6 separate regions of the Homo sapiens genome follow, and regions 1, 2, 3, 5 and 6 are each linked to region 4. The links are contacts of gene promoters, found by promoter capture Hi-C in human tissues and cell types (Jung and others, 2019). All regions are on one chromosome and are shown on one strand. Each heading gives the region's core, a stretch centred on a gene start or on the middle of the fragment in contact. The rest is flanking DNA. Distances are from core to core; before and after follow the strand shown.

Region 1 (3,363 bases), core at 849-3,348, 190 kb before region 4:
AACAAGCCTTCTATGGTAGAGGCCTTCTATGGCAGAGGCTGTTTTCCAATACCCAGGTTTTCCTTTCTTCGTTTTGGCAAGAGCAACTTCTGAGTCTGTTGGTTGAACTCTTGCATTAAGCTACATTTTCCAACTTCCCTTGCAGCTAAGCATGGGCATCTGTCTCAGTTCTGGCCAAAATAGAATGTGAACATCTGTGATTTATGAAAGTTCTGCATTATGTCCTTCAAGGGAAAAATTTCCTCCCACTTTCTTCTCCCTCCCCACAACTGGAATGAGGACATGGTGCTGTAACCCATGTTCAGACATACAAGTACTTTAGCATATGGCGGAACAACATAAAAGAAGCCTGGACACCTCAACAACCAAATGGAGTAGGGTCACATTAAACTGCCCTCTGGTTCAGAACTTAATATGAAAAACAAACAGGCTAGGCACAGTGGCTCACACCTGTAATCCCATCACTTTCAGAGTCCAAGGTGGGTGGATAACTTGAGCTCAAAAGTTCAAGGCCAGTCTGGGCAAAATGGCGAAACTCAGTCTCTCCAAAAAATACAAAACTTAGCCAAGCATGGTGGCGCACGCCTGTAGTCCCAGCTACTCAGGAGGCTGAGGTGGGATAATTGCTTGAGCCCAGGAAGTTGGGGCTACAGTGAATCATGATTGTGCCACAGCACTCCAGCCTGAGCGACAGAGCAAGACCCTGTCTCAAACAAAAAACAAAAAACCTCCATCTAGTTTAAGTCAGTTTTATTTGGACGCTGTGAAAGCAGCCCTGTCAACATTCTAGCAAGTATCAGCATCTGTTTCAGTGTGGTGTTTCAGACCCAATAAGCAGGTCTACTTTTGAGAAAATTCTGGAGGGTCATAGAAGTAAAATTAAAGTGAGGATGCAATCTGGCATTGACTTATACATATTTCTTTTAAAAAAGTAAAAGACATTGGGGGTTTCCCAGACAAAATACATGATTAATAATAGGCATTTGTTGCTTCAGAGACTTCATGGGTTAATAGTTAAACTAAGTCACCAACAAACTTTTCGGAAAAAGCAGGTAACTTACACTAGGAACAATTTTGTCAGTCATAAAAAAGGAAAATATACTTTTTATGAAACTAGGTAAATCACAGGCCAAGGGAAATCATAACCTATCATTCCTAGAAAGCTTAAAAACAACTGAAAATCGCCTATTCTTTGGCCTTCAGCTTGTGCTGTGCTGTAAGCGCTGGGCTGGAATGCAAACCTTCCAGCCCCACAATCTTACACTCAGGACATGGGTGAACACTCACAAGCTAAAGAAATGAGTAACAACAGAAAATTAAACCACATAGTTTAATTTATATGAAGAATCTATTCTGTAGAGGTCAATATATCACTATATAATTTCCCAGAGAATTAATATTTAGTATGAAGAGCTTGAAGAAAATAGGTTAGGACTCTTTCTGAAGTTAGAGGACTCACATAAACACATTTGCAGATATTTACACTTCCAAGTAGGAACACTTAACAGAGAGCAAAATATTTACTTAAACAACCTCGAAGGGTAAATCTCTTTTAAAAGAATCAACTTTTAATTACTGTTACCTAGATTATAAAACCAAATACAAGTACTTGTAGCTTCATACAGATTTTCAAAATAGTCTAAAATGTTTTGTTCCCTGGAAACAACAAGTTTTCCAATGGGCTATGTCCTTTCCAATTCAAATGAAGGTGTTGTCCTCTGGAGCTTTTAAATATCCAAGGTGAAGTCAAGCCTTTCATCCTCTGTACTTTCTGGCACTTCCTGAATATTCCAGTATCCACCTAACCCTGTCATCACTGGCTTGCCCACCCCCATTCCCGCTTAACTAGGAACTCCTCAGGAACAGCCAGAGGTGGAGTCTCACAAAAGCATGGACTCTAAGGACAGACAGGTTTGAATCCAAGTTCCAGCAAATCATATGTGTGTGGCCTTACACGTGTCACTTAACCTTCCTGACCCTTGTCTTTAAAATAGATGAAATGATTAAATGGCTGGCTGTGAGGATTAAATGAATTAATACATGATAAATTTCTCAGCTCAGTACCTGGAACATAGTAAGTACCACTTAAGTGTCACATCAGTCTCTGACTCCATAGGTGCCTGAGAAAACTGCCTTTGAACAGAACAGAGGATTCCCATCATAGTAGGCCAAGTTCAGGGACAGTGTATCTCTCCCAAACAAATGTTGCTTATTAAAATATTTTAAATTTTCCAGTGAAACATAACTAAAACGCTGGGATGATCACACCTCAACAAAATTATCTCATGGGCTTATCAGAGAAGAGTCCAGAATAATGGTCTAGAATGCATCAATCTTAGCTCAGATGATAGCTCCTTCTGGAAGACCTGGAACTTGAAATCTAAAACACTGTTTTTCAGAATGTGCATTAATTCATCCAACCAAGAAAAACCAGTGCTATAGTTTTCAGTCACTTCTTTATTGCAGAGCATCTCTGAAATGTCCTTTCTTTTCTGCCTCACCTGTTAACTCCCATTATTCCTACTCCTGCGAATAGTAGGGGCATGATTATTACATGAATAAAACTTCAGTTTAAATGCAAAGCTTCACAAGAAAAGCACCCGAAAAACCTGTTTGTGTCTGTACTGTGTCAGTATCTTTAATTATCAAAAACTTTAGTATTTTCATTCTTGGAAAATTACTTAGACGTTATTCCCACATGGAAAAATCCATAAGAACCTCTTTCAAATACCCAGAACTGCAATCACCCTGCCTTAGTTTATGTTTCCCTAGAAGCAGTGGCTGTGACAAGGATTTGAGCATAAGTAAATTTTTTTTCTTTGGAAATAGGTAGAGATGCTGATGTTTATGAATTCATGAGACCAAAATAACACTGAAAGCCAATGAGAAAATGCCCCTTGGCAGAGCTTACACTTTTATTTAAAAAAAATGAGAGAACATTAATGGTCTTATTCTCTTTCAACTATAAATCAAACACTTCTACTTGAAAATAATCAGGAAGTCCCCAGTCCCCAGGTTCCAAGGACCCTTGGAGTCCCCGTATCAGAGAAGAGCTGCCAATTAAAGATTTTCCCAGTAATAGTTTGTAAGATCTCATTCATTTAACAAACATTTGTATGCTATTTATGATACATAAATCATAATTTATAGTAAGAAATCAACTATGTGATTATTGCCTAATATGATCCACCTACTCTCTCTATACAAAGCCTATTGTTTATAATTTCCTTTGGATTGATTATAGATTTAGAAGTTTGTTGGGAACTTTTGCCTGACTCTTACGGAAAATATCAAAACTGAATACATGTCTTTCATTAGATTTAATTAGTGTGACTTCTATAATGGTGTGTAAATAATCCTTGT
Region 2 (3,303 bases), core at 195-2,694, 150 kb before region 4:
CATTTAATAAGCTGCTGCCAAATATATTCAAAATGGCTGCGTCCAACACACATCTTTGTCTTCTTCTTGATGAAGACATCTAAAATCTTTCTCTAAGTGTAATGTCAGTAAAATCTACCCAAATCCTCAATGCTTAAGCTTCATTGGTAATAAATAGGTTTTTAACTGGCCCCATGGACCTTAGCTTTAGGAGGCGTTAATGCAGCAAAGATCATTGTCACATGTAAATGCCATAAATTCCGTGAGTAATTACTAGTTTGTGTAGGTGACGTTGAGGTAATGAACAAGCCAAGAGGGTCCATGCTGATTCTTTGTACATCCATCAGGCAATGCTATGATTCTGCTGGCTTAATTATTACACCTTGTAAAGATGAATGCGGGGAACATGCCTGCCTTGTCGGCAGCCTCCCAGGGGACTGGTACTGAGTAATTGCTTTCCAGCCCTGTAGGAATCATCTACATGGAGCCACAGGCACCATCTGGCTCTCCATTCCTCCTCCACATGCCTTAGCAAGCCTCCTGGGGACAAGATGAGGTATTGGGGGTGGCAGTTACCATCAATAAGCTGGTGACATCTTATCCTCTTCTTTATTCTAATCACAAATTTTATATTATTAAATATTCGTGATCCCAGAAACACTGTGCTAAATATATAAAAAATCAATGTACATGTATATATTATATCACAGGCTACTACAACATCATATATAACACACTATTAAATATTAAATATATTTATACATAAACATAAATATGGACTAAGTTTACTTATACTGAGGTGAGATTGTTTTGGGATATAGAGTAAAGAGTCACACATGAATAGGTAGGAAATATTTAATAGACACCACTGTAGAATTTGTCTTGTTTTCTGAGGAAAGTACATTCCTTTAAATCTCTCTTATCACAAAAAATTCAACATAAAATCCTGTTGGATTAAAAAGTTAAATATTAAAATATTAGATGAAAAATTTGGATATGAGAATTTATATCCTTGGCTGGTCTTACTATATACAAAGCAAATGGAAGAAGTATAGACAAAAGTCCACTGATAATTTCTACAGTATGAGAATTTTCACCCTGTCCAGGCCAAAACCATGATACTTACTTACAAGGAGAACAGGAAACTGAGAAAGTATTATATTAAAAATAAAGCAGACAAGAGACTATTATATAGCAGCTACTATAAGGAGATCCTCTCTTTAATATAAGGAACTGGCAAATAAATCCCTGTGTTTCATTGAAGGACAGCGCTTAGAAAGATTCAAGAGCTCTAACATATAGTAGACAATAACTGTTGAATTGTTAAAAATTAATTAACAAAAGGAGGAATGGACAAAGAGCACACTCAGACAATTCACATGGAAGGAACTGTAAAGGATTAATGTACTGGATGCTGTGGGTCCCGTGCCCAGATCTGCTCTACTGGCCAACAGTCCATTATCTTCTGGTTCAAATACTTCTGGGAGTATGTATATATTGCTTCTATGATGAAATAGTAATATAAAATAATTTTTGTCAGTATATTGAATAACATGGAAATATCATTACATAATATGAGAAATCAGGAATCAGGGCAGTAAACAGGCTAAGTTAATGGCATTCACGTAAACTTGGTGCTGAGAAAATGTACCTTTTCTTTTTCTTTTGATATGGAGTTACACTCTGTCACCCAGACTGGAGTGCAGTGGCACCATCTTGGCTCACTGCAACCTCTGCCTTCAGGGTTCAAGCGATTCTCCTACCTCAGCCTCCTGAGTAGCTGGGACTACAGGCATATGCTACCACGCCCGGCAAATCTTTGTATTTTTGTAGAGACGGGGTTTAGCCATGCTGGCCAGGCTGGTCTCGAACTCCTGACCTCAGGTGATCTGCCTGCCTTGGCCTCCCAAAGTGCTGGGATCACAGGCATGAGCCACTGTGCCAGGATGAAAATTTATCCTTTTCTCTTATGCTATGCTTCTTGGATTCCTTATAAAATGACCAATGGACTACTATATGAAAGGACTAATGTATCCAGCCCTGAAAAAATACCATCAATATTTGAGAAACATAAATATTTAGCTAAATATTAGTGAGAAGAGAAATTGTTTGAAGGGAAACACCAGGAACTATCTTGGAAGCCTCTCACTTGAGAAATAAACACAGCATGATTACATGACAATGCTCACAGTATCCTACAAACCCCGCACTGGTGGGTACAGGTGTGAAGGCCATAGGAGTAGGTTGCTCTATCTTATGAAGCAGCTACCCAAGTAAACTATGGCTCATCTTCCTGACCTGGAGCTTCATTTCAATAATGCCGTGGGTAGCTGCTCAAGGAGGGTCATGTATCCATGGTCACACTATGTACCTGATACAGAGACCAGTCCAAACAGAAAGTTAAACACAGAAAATGGCCATGTCCTTCAAGTGTCTGGATCAATGAACCAGCCACATGAACCTATGACTGTAATATCCAGTCTTCCAGGTTAAGAGATGAGATAGGGTTCTTAAAAAATAAAAATTAAAAATTGGATGTGAAAATATACTAGAATCTAGCCACCATTATTTCATGTTTATGGTCAAATATCTGGCCTACTTCATAGTCTCTATGTTCAATTCTGAATAAATATGAAAAGGAATAAAAACATTTCAAAAGATTGAGCCCTGAAGATACTGTGATGTATATGTATATAGATATAAATATATATATTTAGAAATATTTTATATTTATATGTATAGAAATATATATATATAAAAGCAAAACGAAGAGAAGGAGCATACATTTGGGAAAATATTTACTAGAGCAAACACAAGTGAAGCATCTGGTTTATAGGATCAATAAAATTCCTTGAAACAATAACTCTATAAACAATGAGACAAAAATGCCAGAGAATGAGATAAAACAGGAGCTAGACACATGCAGAAACAAAACAAGAACAGGGTAGGCTAACATAACACTGAGAAATAAAAATACCATAACAATATTAAAATCTTTATTAGAAAACGAGCACATAAATGTCAGATCAGAAAAAGCAAACCACTGGTACAGGAACAAACCCTTTAAATTCTCCCAGAATGAAGAGGCACAAAAGACAAACAGATTCTTAGACTAAGAAAGAAGACAACATATATGAAAAGCAAACTCAAGTAGTATAAACTGATGTTCCAGAGGAAGAGGCCAAGCAGACCCAAGAGAAATAAGAATTAAGGGCAAAGTGGAAGGAAACATTTCCAGATCTGTCTATTTAATATAATTCTTGATATTCCCAGGGGAAGTTATGAAATGTTATCAATGTGCACTCATATTATATTGAGCTAATT
Region 3 (3,140 bases), core at 209-2,708, 140 kb after region 4:
GTGAAGCCAACTTGCTAGGTTGCACATTCTGGAGATAAAAGCTGGTCCTCAAGATTCTAGGATCACCTGGTGATGAGACACTCACATGGCCGAATTCCTATCAACTCAGGAGTTGGTTTGGTTTGCATTTGGCCTTCTTAACTTCATACCAACCTCCCCTATGTTCTTGCTTGAGTAAACTGTTGAGGTGAGAAAGTCCCTTGAATAGTCTTATGAGGCAGTTCCTGTCAGCTTCCTGCTGTTACCCTGAATCCCAGGGATCCTCGATATGTCATTCATACCACAATATGGACAAGAGTAGATGATCTCCAGTGTTCTTTCCATCACTAAATTTAAATTTTCTTTCCAATTCACTCATGATGGCGCTCACCTGCATATTTTAATTTTTATATAAACTCACAGAAGTAATTACCTCATTAGCTGTTAATATCTATCCTCACAAATAGTCTCAACATTTTACCCATCTCACAGATGGAGTCACTGAGGCCTAGGAGATGGGACAGTTAGAGGAGTTTCTCAGAGAGTTGACATCTTCAAAGGACAAAATTGATTTTGATTTTATATTATAGTAGCAATATCCAATTTCTTTAAAATTGTATGCAACTTAGTGACTAAATGAAAAATGTTAATACTCTAATGGATAGTACAAGGTGAGGTGAATATCATAAAAGCAATGTGCAGAAGATTGAACTTCAGGAAGCATCACTGCCAAGTCTGGTGGCATAGTTAGGATTAGAAGTTCTTGGGTTTTGTGTGTGGCACATGTGTGGAGAGAGACTGTCCAGTCTTCTGTCTTCCCTCTTTTCACAGTTGGCTACAGTGCTACAGAGTGGCACTATCCTTCTCTTCCAGAAACACATCATTGTTTCACACCTTATGTGTAGGCCCCTGAATCCTATTTTTTTTTTTTCCAGCCATAGACTTGTTCCTAGAACCCTTTGAGTGCCTAGTGCAGAATCTGGTACCTAGTTAATGTGCTTGATAATTGCTTTTTGTTAGTTATATGTATTAATCATTATTGTCTTCATTATTTTACTTTTTCCTTCTCTTTATAGCCAACGTGGAATACTTTAACTTTTGTTAATTTTTTTAGCCAATGCTGATAGCAGGCTTAAAATAGGGTTCCGTGGCAGTTGCTCAGCATATAGGTTGAGCATCCCCAAATCCAAAAATCCAAAATCCAAAATGCTCCATAATCTGAAACTGTTTGAGCACCAACGTGACACTTAAAGGAAGTGCTCACTGGAGCATTTTGAATTTCCGATTTTTGGATTTGTGATGTTCACCTGGTAAGTGTAATGCAAAAATCTGAAAAAATCAGAAATCTGAAGGCTGTCTGGTCCCAAGCATTTGGAATAAGGGATACTCAACCTGTATATGCTTTTGCGAACTAAGTTTAGCATTTAAATGTATTTAAAGCATTTTTTATTGGATTTGTTGAATCTCTGCTGCTCACTGATAATATAGGATGTAACTTCCCTTTCCTAAATGTTACTGTCGTTTTGAGAGGATGTAGGCATATGGCAGATTTTAGCTAAAATAAGATGTGCTACATCCTTGGGAGGACAATCTGTGTGATGGATGCTACCTTCCCTTTTTATTAGAATGACGTGACAGAAAACTTAAGGCTTTATTTAAAATATCTGATGATGAGAATTAAAAGCCATGAACATTTAGACTAGAGAAGAACAAAGTGTATTTTAAAACTTGAAAACATTCTTCTGTGATTTACATAGCATGCCTCTTCTCAATGTTTTTTTCGTATAAAAATGTTTAGAATGTTTTGTAGAATGTTATAGTGAGACAGTGGTGCACATCTGTAAGGTACCTTTCATAGATCCTACAAGAGGCTGCAAGGTTATGTTTTGTTACAAGTGCTAAGAGCTAAAGCATGAAAGAGGTGAACCCTTGGCCATCATTGAAGAGTCTTTTCTAGCTGTTTCCTTGCAGGGAAGATATTTTGGGGATTCTGATCTGTGTCTGAAAGAGATAAAGGGCTTGTTCCAGAACTCCTCAGAGAGTATATCCTATGACACAGGTGAACTCTAAATCCAAAGGCTCTCTGTCCTTCAGGGCCAGTCTAGGTTTGAATGAGACTCTGCAACACTGGGCTGGATGAGTGGGTGTGACTAAGTAGTATTTAATCCAACCTGCAGTAGTTTAGACTTCCAGAGGGAGTGCTTGCCTTTCTGGGGAGGGAAGGCTCTACCTCAGATGCATGGAGGCCTTGGCTTGGCTGTCTTCCTTAAGTCTGTCTGACCACTGATTAGAATGCTCTTCTCATTTATTCTGTTGTAATGATGTTTTAATTTCATCTTCTCACTCAAATATGTATGTAGCCAAAAGTTAGCTCTAACTTAATCATGTACTATGATAGTATAAGGTGTCACACCCATCAGATGACATTTTAGTGCATTTTCAGTGAACAGACTAAGATTTTTTTTTTTTTTGAGGCAGAGTCTCACTGTGTCACCCAGGCTGGAGTGCAGTGGGGCGATCTCAGCTCACTGCAACCTCCGCCTACCGTGTTCAAGCAATTCTCCTGCCCCAGTCTCCCAAATAGCTGGGACTACAGGCGCCTGCCACCAAGCCCCACTAATTTTTGTATTTTTGTTAGAGACAGGGTTTCACCATATTGGCCAGGCTGGTCTCGAACTCCTGACCTCGTGATTCACCCGCCTCGGCCTTCCAAAGTGCTGGGATTACAGGTGTGAGCCACCGCGCCCAGCCCGAGTAAGATACTTTCTTATTCATCTAGTACCATAGTATAAGGTATCATGCCCATCAGTTTACATTTTTGTGCATTTTCAGCGAACAGCATGGGATATTTCCTTGTGGTAAGCACATATAATATTGAATAAGGATCAGTATTTTCCACAAGTGAAAACTGTCACTTTGCCTGGTAGTTAAAGAAACAGAAACACAATGATCTAAAACTGAATTGGATTTTATTTAATAAGCTATTCCTTTGGAAACATATATAAAGCAAAACTTCAAGGACATGGTACCACTAATCCTAACACTCATAAGGGGCTTTAAAGCTGTTGTAGACTCAGACAAAGTAGACAGATAAATATTTATATCTGTAGTTGTGAAAGTACAACCTGATTAATGAATAGTTACTAATAATGACCTAAAAG
Region 4 (3,116 bases), core at 69-2,568:
GAAGTCCTGGGGTCTGGGCCGCTCGTAAAGCATTAGAGACCCCGGCGCTGGGCTAGGCTCTGCCCTACCTGGCAAACGGTGCAGGTAAATCGTGGGGCAAACTCTCAACCTGTCTATTTCAGGCAGAAGACTCCAATCAGCTCAGTTCTCAAAAGTCAGCCCTCCCCACTTGCCTGCAGGCCCATGAGCCCTCCAGGACCCCTCAAGGGCCCCCATTCTGTTCACGCCCTCCCCAGATGTGTCCCCGCAGCCCTTTTCAGGGACCCTCACTCCGGAGCCAGGCGCTGAAGTTTGGCATCAACGACCACCTGTTGGCTGGACCGTTGTGTCCTCCGCCGCCTTGGCTCCCACAAAAGCGCCAAGAGGGTTCGCAATCACTAAAGTGTTTTGAACTTCAGGTCCTTCCTTCTTGAAATCGGGCAAAAGAGGTAATAGGGGGTGCGTCCGCAGGCGGAGAGGGACGCGATTTGTTCACACCAGGCGCTTTCCAGTTGGTCCCAACTTCACACTCCCTACTTTCCGAACTCTCAGGACCTGTCACCAGGCAAAGCTTGCCCCTCCCTCTCCACTGGCCCAAAAGATGTAAGACCCTCAGGGGGCGCCTGCCAGACCCAGAAAGGATGGCAACTACTGAAGCCCGATGAAACAGGAGCGCGCGCAAAGCTTCTGCCCTTGGACATCCGCTTTGGCAGATGCCAACCTGTGCGCCCGAGGCTGCCCCTGCCCGCTCCCAGTGCGCCCATTGCATAACGCGCCCCTTGCCCCACCCCCACGACGCCCGCCCTGCCCGGTGCCCGAGCCAGCGCCCCGACTCGGGCCGCCCCAATACTTACATCATCCCACTTGACGAATTTGGTGCCCTTCTTGAGGCTGTCGGACACGCACACGGGCTTGAGTTGCAAGGCGTGCACTCCGGGTTGAGCCCCGGCCATCTGGGCTCATCTGGGCTCCGGGCGGCCCGGGCGAGCGCGGCAGGGACTGGGGACCGTGCGCGGGGCGCGGGGCGCGGGGCGCGGGCTCCTTTCTCTGCTCCGGAGGCGCTCGACTCTGCTCCCCGCCGGCCTCCCCGGCCTCCCGGCCTCCGCACCTCCCTCCGGCGCCGCTCAGCAGGCAGAGCGCGCGGGGGCGCAGCGCCCGGCCATGCCCCGGGCGGGACGCGAGGTCTGGAGCCCGCGGTGGATGAGGAGCCTCGGAAGGCGAAGAGAAGCCGAGCCGGTCAGCCGAGGCTGCCAGTCGCGGCGGATTCTGCTCCTCCGCCGCCGCCGCCTCAAAGCGCACCATTCAGCACATCCTCTATACACAGAGGGAGAGAGCGAGTGACACACGCCCGGCGCCCCCCCTAACCGCTCTTTTCCCTCCTCCCTCCTCCTCCCCCCCGCCCCCCTTCCCCGCCACCCTCGCTCGCTGGGTCCTTCCTTCCCCCCGCGGCTCCCAGCCCAACTTTGCACGCTGGGTCAGGCGCCAGGAAGCGGGGACGCAGCGGCACCTCCTGGCTCCCGAGCCCCATTGCAGCCAACGCCTGCCTCCCGCATTCGCTCTGAGCATGCCCCGTGCCCTGGTTGCAGAGGTGCTAGGGGTCCCCAGGAGCCTTACGCTCTTTGGGGTTTTCTTGGGAATTTGGGCTCGAGCTCCGGAGCGTCTTTGGATCCCAACTGGCTGGGAAAAGGGGCCCATCGGGAGGAACCAAAGAGGCAACCCCTGGCTTTTGGCTCTAGCTGGAGCTCTCCAGCGCCAGCCACAAACCAGCTTTTTGAAGAGAATTATCATTTATCAGCAGAGAAGAGCGCAGTTGAGAGGCTCTTTGAGGAAACCTGGCCGCGCCTGAGAGTTTGCAGCGCGCTGATCTTGAAACCCGGGCAAACGGTTACGTTGTGCTTTCGAGACAGAAAGCCCATCCTAAAGAAAGCAAAGGTTTTATTTTCCGAGGAAGAAAGAGGGTGCCCTCTCCCGCTCCTCTCCTTGAGTGTGTAGGATGTGTGGCGGGTGGGGGAGAGTCTTATTAATAGAAACTTGCTCATTTAGGAACATAGGTCCAGGAATGTTTGTCTTCACTCCTTCCACAAACATTTCTCAATTCAAGAAAGAAAGGGAGGGAGGGAGGGAAGAAGGGAAAGAGGAGGACCAGAATGGATAAAATTTTAAAGACTGGTAATACCAAATGCTTGAAAGGATGTGGAGCAACTGGAACTCTTTTTTTTTTTTTATTAAGGAGAGAGAGGAGAGGGAGAGAGAGAGTGAGTGAGTGTGAGAGAGAGAAAGAGAGAGAGAGAGAGACACACGCGGGAGGTGGGGGGGCGGAGAGAGAAATAGCTTGGAACTCTTGTTCATTGCTGGAGGGAATATAAAATAGTAAAACCACTTTGGAGAATAGTTTCTTATAAAGTAAGATATTTACTTATCATACAACCTAGAAATTCCACTCCTAAGTATTTGTCCAAAAGAAATGAAAACGTTCAAGTCTGCAGGGACTTGTAAAGTGATGTGAAGAACTTTCTTCTTAGTAGCCTGCAAATGTCAATCAACAGGTGAATGGATAAACAAACTGTGGTATGCCCAAATATTGGAATACTATTCCACAATAAAAATGAGTGGGCATGCAAGATCAGGGATGAATCGCGACTTTAAGCTTTGTAAAAGAAGCCGGACACGATAGACTGTATGCTGCCTGATTCCATGTGTAGGAATTGCAGAATAGGCAAGATATTCTATGTTGACAGAAAGCTTGCCTGTGGCCAGGGATAGGTAGAGATGGACAGGGAAGGGCTACGAGCACCTGATGAGCATGTCGGAAATGTTCTATATCGTGTGTGTGTTTATCAAAACTTGTAAGTTCTGTAAGTACGCCTAAATTGAGTGCAGTTTGTTTTAAATAAATTATATCTCAAAAAGGTTGATTTTTAAAAAGAAGAAAGAATACGAAGAGAGAAAAATGGAGAGAAACACTACATTCTCTTAATCCTTCATTCTCCCTGTTCTCTGCCCTCAGGACTCCAAGGCCCAATGCTTATGAACTCAGTCAAAAGATTACCAAAATCCAATACAGAAATTTGCTATTAAATATTTCAATGCATTTAAAATATACTTATTGGTAGCCAGCTGTATACTAGCCACTATTG
Region 5 (3,055 bases), core at 355-2,854, 220 kb before region 4:
AAGAGAGAGAGAATTTCAGTACAAATACAAAGAAAAGAATTCTGGACACTATGGAGTCTCACTTTATACCATATCTATTCTGCAGGTCTATTTTTAAAGCTAAGAAGAAAAAATACAGTATGATGAGATTTTGTTGCATTAAAAATCATTTAATGCTGAGACTCTAGTGATTTCTTTAATATTACTTTAATCCCTTATAAGCATTCCCGAATGCTTTATAAATACTTTTTGTTGCAATTATTATTAAACCATTTAAGGTGCAAAAAAGCTGAGGGTTAAGTGCCCCCATTATACTTGGTGATTACTGCAGGAGTCCTTACTATAATGGTGCTACTCTTCTCTCCATACAGGTGAGTGGGTTAGCACAGTTCAGCAATACTGGGCTCGCACAGAGCTTAAGGCAAAGGTTGCTCATTCGCCACCAAACTTTGCACTTTGCCTTACACAGTTCAAAGAATTACAGGGAAATTGCTGCCTGAATACAGCCACATTTCACATCACCCTTTGCTTGCATTTAAGGAGGGTCATATGAATAGTTCTCACAAATGGAAGGTTAATGGAAGAGACGAGGGTCATTTCAGGTCTTTTTCTTTCTCCTGTGTCCTTTTTAAAGAGGACAGAGAGACCCTAGGAGATACTGGAGCTGTTAGATTGGACAGAGTCTAAGTCCCTAAATCACCAGGTAGAAGAAAATCACCTTATATCAAAAACACCCACACTAGGCTTCTAAGTAAATGAGGAATACTTTTTAATGTGTTAAGCTATTGAAACTCTGGCATTTATTTTTTATTGTACCTATGATCTCCAAATAATATGGGGCTTAAATGACCTTTTCTTTCTTTCTTTTTTTTTTTAAGACAAATACCACTATCTCTGATCATAGAAAGTCACAAGCACATGGGATATTAGAAAAGGAAAAAGAATGTTATAAGCAAAGAACCTGTTTTATCCCCATTTAATAGATGGTAAAACTGAGATCTCTACATGTTAAGTAATTTGACAGCACATAGCTAATGAGTTGTACAACTAGGGTTCCATTTCATGACTGTAGACTCTAATACGCCAGATACATCAACACATTTAAACCACTTCTCTGACTTGGTAGACAGAATCCCATGAATTTATAGCAAGCGTTCTCTAATATATGTAGGATCAGCTAAGTTCACTTAAACGTTACAGCCTTACTGAAAAAATTCTGCTATATTCCTATGTGTATGGAATTTTCACTGTTACTAAATTCAAGTCATTGACAGAAAACCATGATCTCAAATGTTAGCTCTGTAGTGAGAAATAATAGTACTAGCATATAATGCTGTTGTGAGGGTTAAAATAATATATAAAATAAACAGAGTTCAATGCCTGGCTTCTAAATGCCAGTCCATTAATATAACATCTGATTTCCCCAACTCTCCTCCGCTCAGAGGGCCAGTATTCGGGGCCAAAGTGTATCAGAGCCTCCACTTTTTGTTCTGTTTTTCCACATTCAATACAGTATTTAATTTACTAATAAACAAAAAGTTTGTTTTGTATTTCTTGCCTTGTGTTGTAAGGTTTTTGGAAGAGGGTGTGTACAATTTAAAAATTACGAAGTAAAGAGAAAACCGTGAGTACTAATTTATTTGCTGTGATTTCTAAACAGGTGTTTTCTTTCCTGGTGTTCTAGTAATGGAAGTGTTTTGCCCTGTGAATCTTACGCAGTTTTCCTTCCTATCCCATTGCTTTGTTGTTGGTCCACTTTTAGATTTTGTTTTTAGTCCTTCTGATGTTTCTCTTCTCTAGTTTTCTGTGTCTTTGAGTTTTTTTCTTGAAATACTTGTTTTACTTTGATAAAATACACGATACAAATTACAATTTTAATCATTTTTAAGTATACAACTCAGTGGCATTAGGTACATTCACATTGTTGTGTAACCATCACCACCATAAATCTCAGGAACCTTTTACATCTTCTCAAATAGAAATTCTGTACATGTTAAGCAATAACTCTCCATTCTCTAACCTTCACTTCCAGCCCCAGGCCACCACGATTATATGTTTAGCTTTGGTCTTTTTTTTTTTTTTAAATAGCCTTCTATTCTAGAATAATTTTAGATTTACAGAAAATTTGTACAGAGAATTTCCATGTATGTCACAGGCAGTTCTCCCTATGGTTAATATCTTACATTAGTATGATACATTTGATACAACTAATATACCAATATTGATACTTTAATATTAACTAAGGCCCATACTTCATTGATATTCCTTAGTTTTGACCTACTGTCCTTTTCCTGTGCCAAGAGCCCATTCACGACACCATACTGCATTTAGTCCACCTGTCATCTTAGGGTGTCTCTTTGGCATTCCTTGCTTTTGATGACCTTAACAGTTTTGAGGAGTACTAGTCAGGTATTTTCTAGAATATCCCTTAATATGGGTACAGGATGTTTTTCTCATGATTAGGCTGAAGTTGTGGGTTTCGGGAGAGAGACCACAGAGGTAAAATGCCATTTTCATCACATCATGTCAAAGGTACCTACTATCAACATGACTTAATACTGATGAGATTATCCTTGGTCAGCTGACTGAGGCAGTGTTTGTCAGTTTCTGCATCACAATTACTCTTTATCCCCTCTTTCCATATTGTGCTTTTTTTGCAGGAAGTTGCTATGTGAATCCCACACTTAAGAGAAGGCAGTTATGCTCCTACATAAATTATTTGGTATCCTATATGGGAGAATTGTGTATTCTTCCCAATTATTTATTCATTCAATGACTGATTTATAATAATGTGGCCTATGGATACTTATTTTATACTTTGAGTTGCAATCTAATATCACATCTTTATTTTGTTGCTTAAATTGTTCCAGCTTTGACCATTGAGAAGTCTTTTAGTTGGTTCCATATGTTCCTTTGAGAAACTTTCTTGCTTCCTGGCATTGTTAGATGCTCCAGCCTAATCTTGTAAATTCCCTTCCCCAGCTCTAGAATCAGCCATTTCTCCAAGAGCCCTAGTTCCTTTTATTGAAGAACGGCACTAGAAACCAAGTTCAGGGGGCTGGTTATGCTCATTGAT
Region 6 (3,453 bases), core at 274-2,773, 130 kb before region 4:
TAACAACTATCCCAGTGCTTTCATGTGTCAGATTCAGGACCAAGTGTTTTTTTATATGCATTCACTCATTTAATCCTCACAACTGCTCTAAGGAATAGACACTGCTGTTCCCATTTTATGGAGGAGAAGATTGAGATTGTTCAAAATTATGCAGCTAATGACTGGTGTAATTGGTAGAGGTAGGATTAAGTCCAAGAATACCTGCCACTAAAACTGATGATCTTAAACATAGAATTCTGTACAGTGTCAGACAAATGACAAGTATTTTCAGCGTAGCCATTTCCTGGACTTACGAGTAATTTCCTTTTGAGGTAAGAGCTAGAAATAGGGATAGGACTCTCAAGGTTTCCTCATTAATTATCTCCCTGACCCCCTAAAATGCATCTCCAACCATACATGTTGGCAGATTACATGGATTGCTACATTTCCCCAGGGCAGTAGGAGGAAAGCACCAAAATTCTTTAGAATGAAACTTCATATCTGTCATTTGCTAAGGTGAAAATATCCTTTGCTGCCAATAAATATTGACTTACACCACATTAATAAAGAATCAAAATCAGGCATAAGAGATGAACATATGTGTGTGTACCTACATACACACACACAGTCATGTGCCCCATAATGACATTTCAGTCCATGAGAGACTGCCTATATGATAGTGGTCCCATAAGATTATAACAGAGCTGAAAAAATTCCTATAACCTAGTGATGTCATGGCTGCCATAACGTTGCAGAGCAACACATCACTCATGCGTTTATGGTATTGCTGGTACAAGCAAAACTATATTGCTGCTAGTTGTATAAAACTCTAGTACATAAAATTATGTATAGTACATAATACTTGATAATGATAATAAACAACTATGTTACTGGTTTATGTGTTTACTATACTATACTATACATTTCATTATTATTTTAGAGTATACTCTTCCTAATAATTAAAGAAAAAAATTAACTGTAAAACAGTCTCAGGTGGGTCCTTCAGTGGCAATTTCAGAAGAAGGCATTGCTATCATATGAGGTGACAGTTCCATGCATATTATCGCCCCTGCAGACCTTCCAGTGGGACAAGATGTGGAAGTGGAAGATAGTGATATTGATGATGCTGACTCTGTCTGAGTAGGTTAATGTGTGTGTTTGCATCTTAGTTTTTAACAAACAAGTTTAAAAAGTAAAAACTAAATATTTAAAAATTGAAGAAACTTATAGAATAAGTCTGTAAAGAAATAAAATATTTTTGTACAGTTGTACAATGTGTTTGTGTTTCAAGCTGAGTGTTCTTACAAGAGTCAAAAGTTTAAATAATTTAAAAGTTTATAAAGTAAAAAAGTTAAAGTAGCTAAGGTGGATAATTTATTATTGAGGGGAAAAGTTTATTAAAATAAATTTATTTTAGCCTAAGTATACAGTGTTTATAAATTCTCTAGTAGTGTACATTAATGTCCTAGGCCTTCACATTCACTCACCAGTCACTCAACAACTCACCCAGAGCAACTTCCAGGCCTAGGAGCTCCATTCATGGTAAGTGTTTTATACAGGTCCATTGTTCTTTTATCTTTTATATCGTATTTTCAATGTACCTTTTCTATGTTTACATACATTTAGATACATGAATACTTACCATTATGTTACAATTGCTTACAGTATTCAGCACAGTAATATGCTGTACAAGTTTGTACCTAGGAGCAATAAGCTATGCCATATATTTTAGGTATGTAGTAGTCTCTACCATCTAGGTTTGCATAAGTTCAGTCCCTGATGTTCACACAATATCAGAATGAATCCCCAGCATTAAGTGACACATGATTATAATATATAATAAGGAAAGAATTAGCAATTTTTATGTTACATAGTGAAGGCGTTCAAATTTCTCCTAATGGGATTGAGTCAACTGATGTCATATTTGAGGAAATAACCTCAGCATTTGAAAGTGATGTTTAATGTCACAATCTGAAATAATATTGAACCAATTAAAACTTTTATTGATGATATGCTCAGCATCTCCTTTTTAATACAGTCATTTTGATTTTTCTTCTAGTAATGAGAAATTGCCTCATTTCTTAACTACTCCAGAGTTTAACCCAGGCTAATAATCAACAGTTACCAGTTACTGAACACTTACTCTGTGCCAGACACAATTTTTTTTTGGTACTATAGATATTAACTCATTCATTCCCATCTAACAGATGACAAAACTGAGGCTTAGAGAGGTTAAGTAAGTTGTCCAGGATTATTTGGGCAGTCAGTGGCAGAGCTGAAATGTTGCCTGTCCTGCATTAGGAATGTTTATGTGTTCCCCCAAATTCATTTGTTGAAGCCCTTAATCCCCAATGTGATTATATTTAGAGGTGGGGCCTTTGTGAGGTAATTAGGTTTAGATTAGGTCATCAGAGGGGGACCCTCATGATGGAGTTAGAGCCCTTGTAAAAAGAGGAAGACGAATCTTTCTCTCTCTCTCTCATTCTCTTTCTCCCTCATACACAAACAAAAGGAAGGTCAGTTGAACACACAGCAAGAAGGCAGCTGCAAGTCAGAAAGCAGGTCCTCACCAGGAACCAAATCTGTTGGCACTTTCATCTTAGACTTCCCAGCCTCTGGAATGGTGAGAAATAACTGTCTGTTGTTTAAGCCACTCCGTCTATGATATTTTGTTATAGCAGCCTGTACGAAAAGAGAGCTCAAATTTTGGGGAGCATAAAACATTCAGATAATGAAGCTGGGTATTCATATATTTCAAATAGCCAGGTACACCTAGACTCTTCCAGTGACTGAAGGCAATTCTAAATTCTGCTGAGCGGCATGCTCTAAACTATGTCTCCCTGTTTCTCTTTCTTCATTGGGGTTCTCACGAAACAAAGACACCATGGATTATACATTCCCCACTGCTGCATCCCTCTAATATTTGGGTATTTCCTTGTGTTAAGAAGGGAAGAAAGGCCGGGTGCAATGGCTTACACCTGTAATCCTAGCACTTTGGGAGGCCAAGGCAGGTGGATCACCTGAGGTCAGGAGTTCGAGACCAGCCTGACCAACATGGTGAAACCCCGTCTCTACTGAAAATACAATAAAAAAAAAAAGTAGCCTGGCGTGGTGGCATGTGCCTGTTGTCCCAGATATTTGTGAGTCTGAGGCAGGAGAAACAGGCAAATCCTTAAACTCAGGAGGTGGAGGTTGCAGTGAGTTAGCTGAGATCATGCCACTGCACTCCAGCCTGGCAAGACTCTGACAGAGCAAGACTCTGTCTCAAAAACAAACAAACAAACAAACAAAAACGCACATAAAAACAAAAAATGAAGGGAAGGAATAATCCCCAGCTGCCATCAAGAAGAAAGCAGCTAAGAGTGCCCTGTCTGAGATGTATGTGGGGCTACCTGGATGTCTAACTCATAGAGACTTTTGTGATGGATTAGATCTCAATGTCTGGATGACCAATAATACATGGAGACTTGTGTG

What was found. The method cuts DNA at HindIII sites, captures the fragments that hold promoters and counts their contacts. A contact is called where the count stands out against the background at its distance.
Region 1: a fragment that was not itself captured here is called in contact with the fragment with the promoter of PLCB1 in region 4 in 10 of the 25 tissues and cell types used here (bladder, dorsolateral prefrontal cortex, heart right ventricle and 7 more).
Region 2: a contact is called between a fragment that was not itself captured here and the fragment with the promoter of PLCB1 in region 4, in 4 of the 25 tissues and cell types used here (bladder, heart left ventricle, hippocampus and 1 more).
Region 3: a fragment that was not itself captured here is called in contact with the fragment with the promoter of PLCB1 in region 4 in 1 of the 25 tissues and cell types used here (mesenchymal stem cells).
Region 5: a contact is called between a fragment that was not itself captured here and the fragment with the promoter of PLCB1 in region 4, in 4 of the 25 tissues and cell types used here (dorsolateral prefrontal cortex, liver, lymphoblastoid cells and 1 more).
Region 6: a fragment that was not itself captured here is called in contact with the fragment with the promoter of PLCB1 in region 4 in 4 of the 25 tissues and cell types used here (IMR-90 fibroblasts, bladder, mesendoderm cells and 1 more).

The regions. Positions count from the first base shown.
Region 1 is chr20:8,324,251-8,327,613 of GRCh38, reverse strand. All of the region lies in intron 2 of PLCB1 (phospholipase C beta 1), which reads right to left. Among named protein-coding and RNA genes, the nearest start is that of PLCB1-IT1, 77 kb to the right of the region's middle. The HindIII fragment of the contact is 5,117 bases long and covers 1-3,363 here.
Region 2 is chr20:8,284,667-8,287,969 of GRCh38, reverse strand. All of the region lies in intron 2 of PLCB1 (phospholipase C beta 1), which reads right to left. Among named protein-coding and RNA genes, the nearest start is that of PLCB1-IT1, 38 kb to the right of the region's middle. The HindIII fragment of the contact is 5,881 bases long and covers 1-3,303 here.
Region 3 is chr20:7,989,605-7,992,744 of GRCh38, reverse strand. All of the region lies in intron 5 of TMX4 (thioredoxin related transmembrane protein 4), which reads left to right. Among named protein-coding and RNA genes, the nearest start is that of TMX4, 29 kb to the left of the region's middle. The HindIII fragment of the contact is 6,623 bases long and covers 1-3,140 here.
Region 4 is chr20:8,130,468-8,133,583 of GRCh38, reverse strand. It overlaps PLCB1 (phospholipase C beta 1), which reads right to left and starts at 1,318. Exons shown (of 32, transcript NM_015192.4): 1 at 834-1,318. The coding sequence starts at 932. RefSeq lists a silencer at 1,093-1,232. The HindIII fragment of the contact is 4,653 bases long and covers 1-3,116 here.
Region 5 is chr20:8,353,025-8,356,079 of GRCh38, reverse strand. The region is part of intron 2 of PLCB1 (phospholipase C beta 1); the gene reads right to left. Among named protein-coding and RNA genes, the nearest start is that of PLCB1-IT1, 110 kb to the right of the region's middle. The HindIII fragment of the contact is 6,417 bases long and covers 1-3,055 here.
Region 6 is chr20:8,261,873-8,265,325 of GRCh38, reverse strand. All of the region lies in intron 2 of PLCB1 (phospholipase C beta 1), which reads right to left. Among named protein-coding and RNA genes, the nearest start is that of PLCB1-IT1, 15 kb to the right of the region's middle. The HindIII fragment of the contact is 5,647 bases long and covers 1-3,453 here.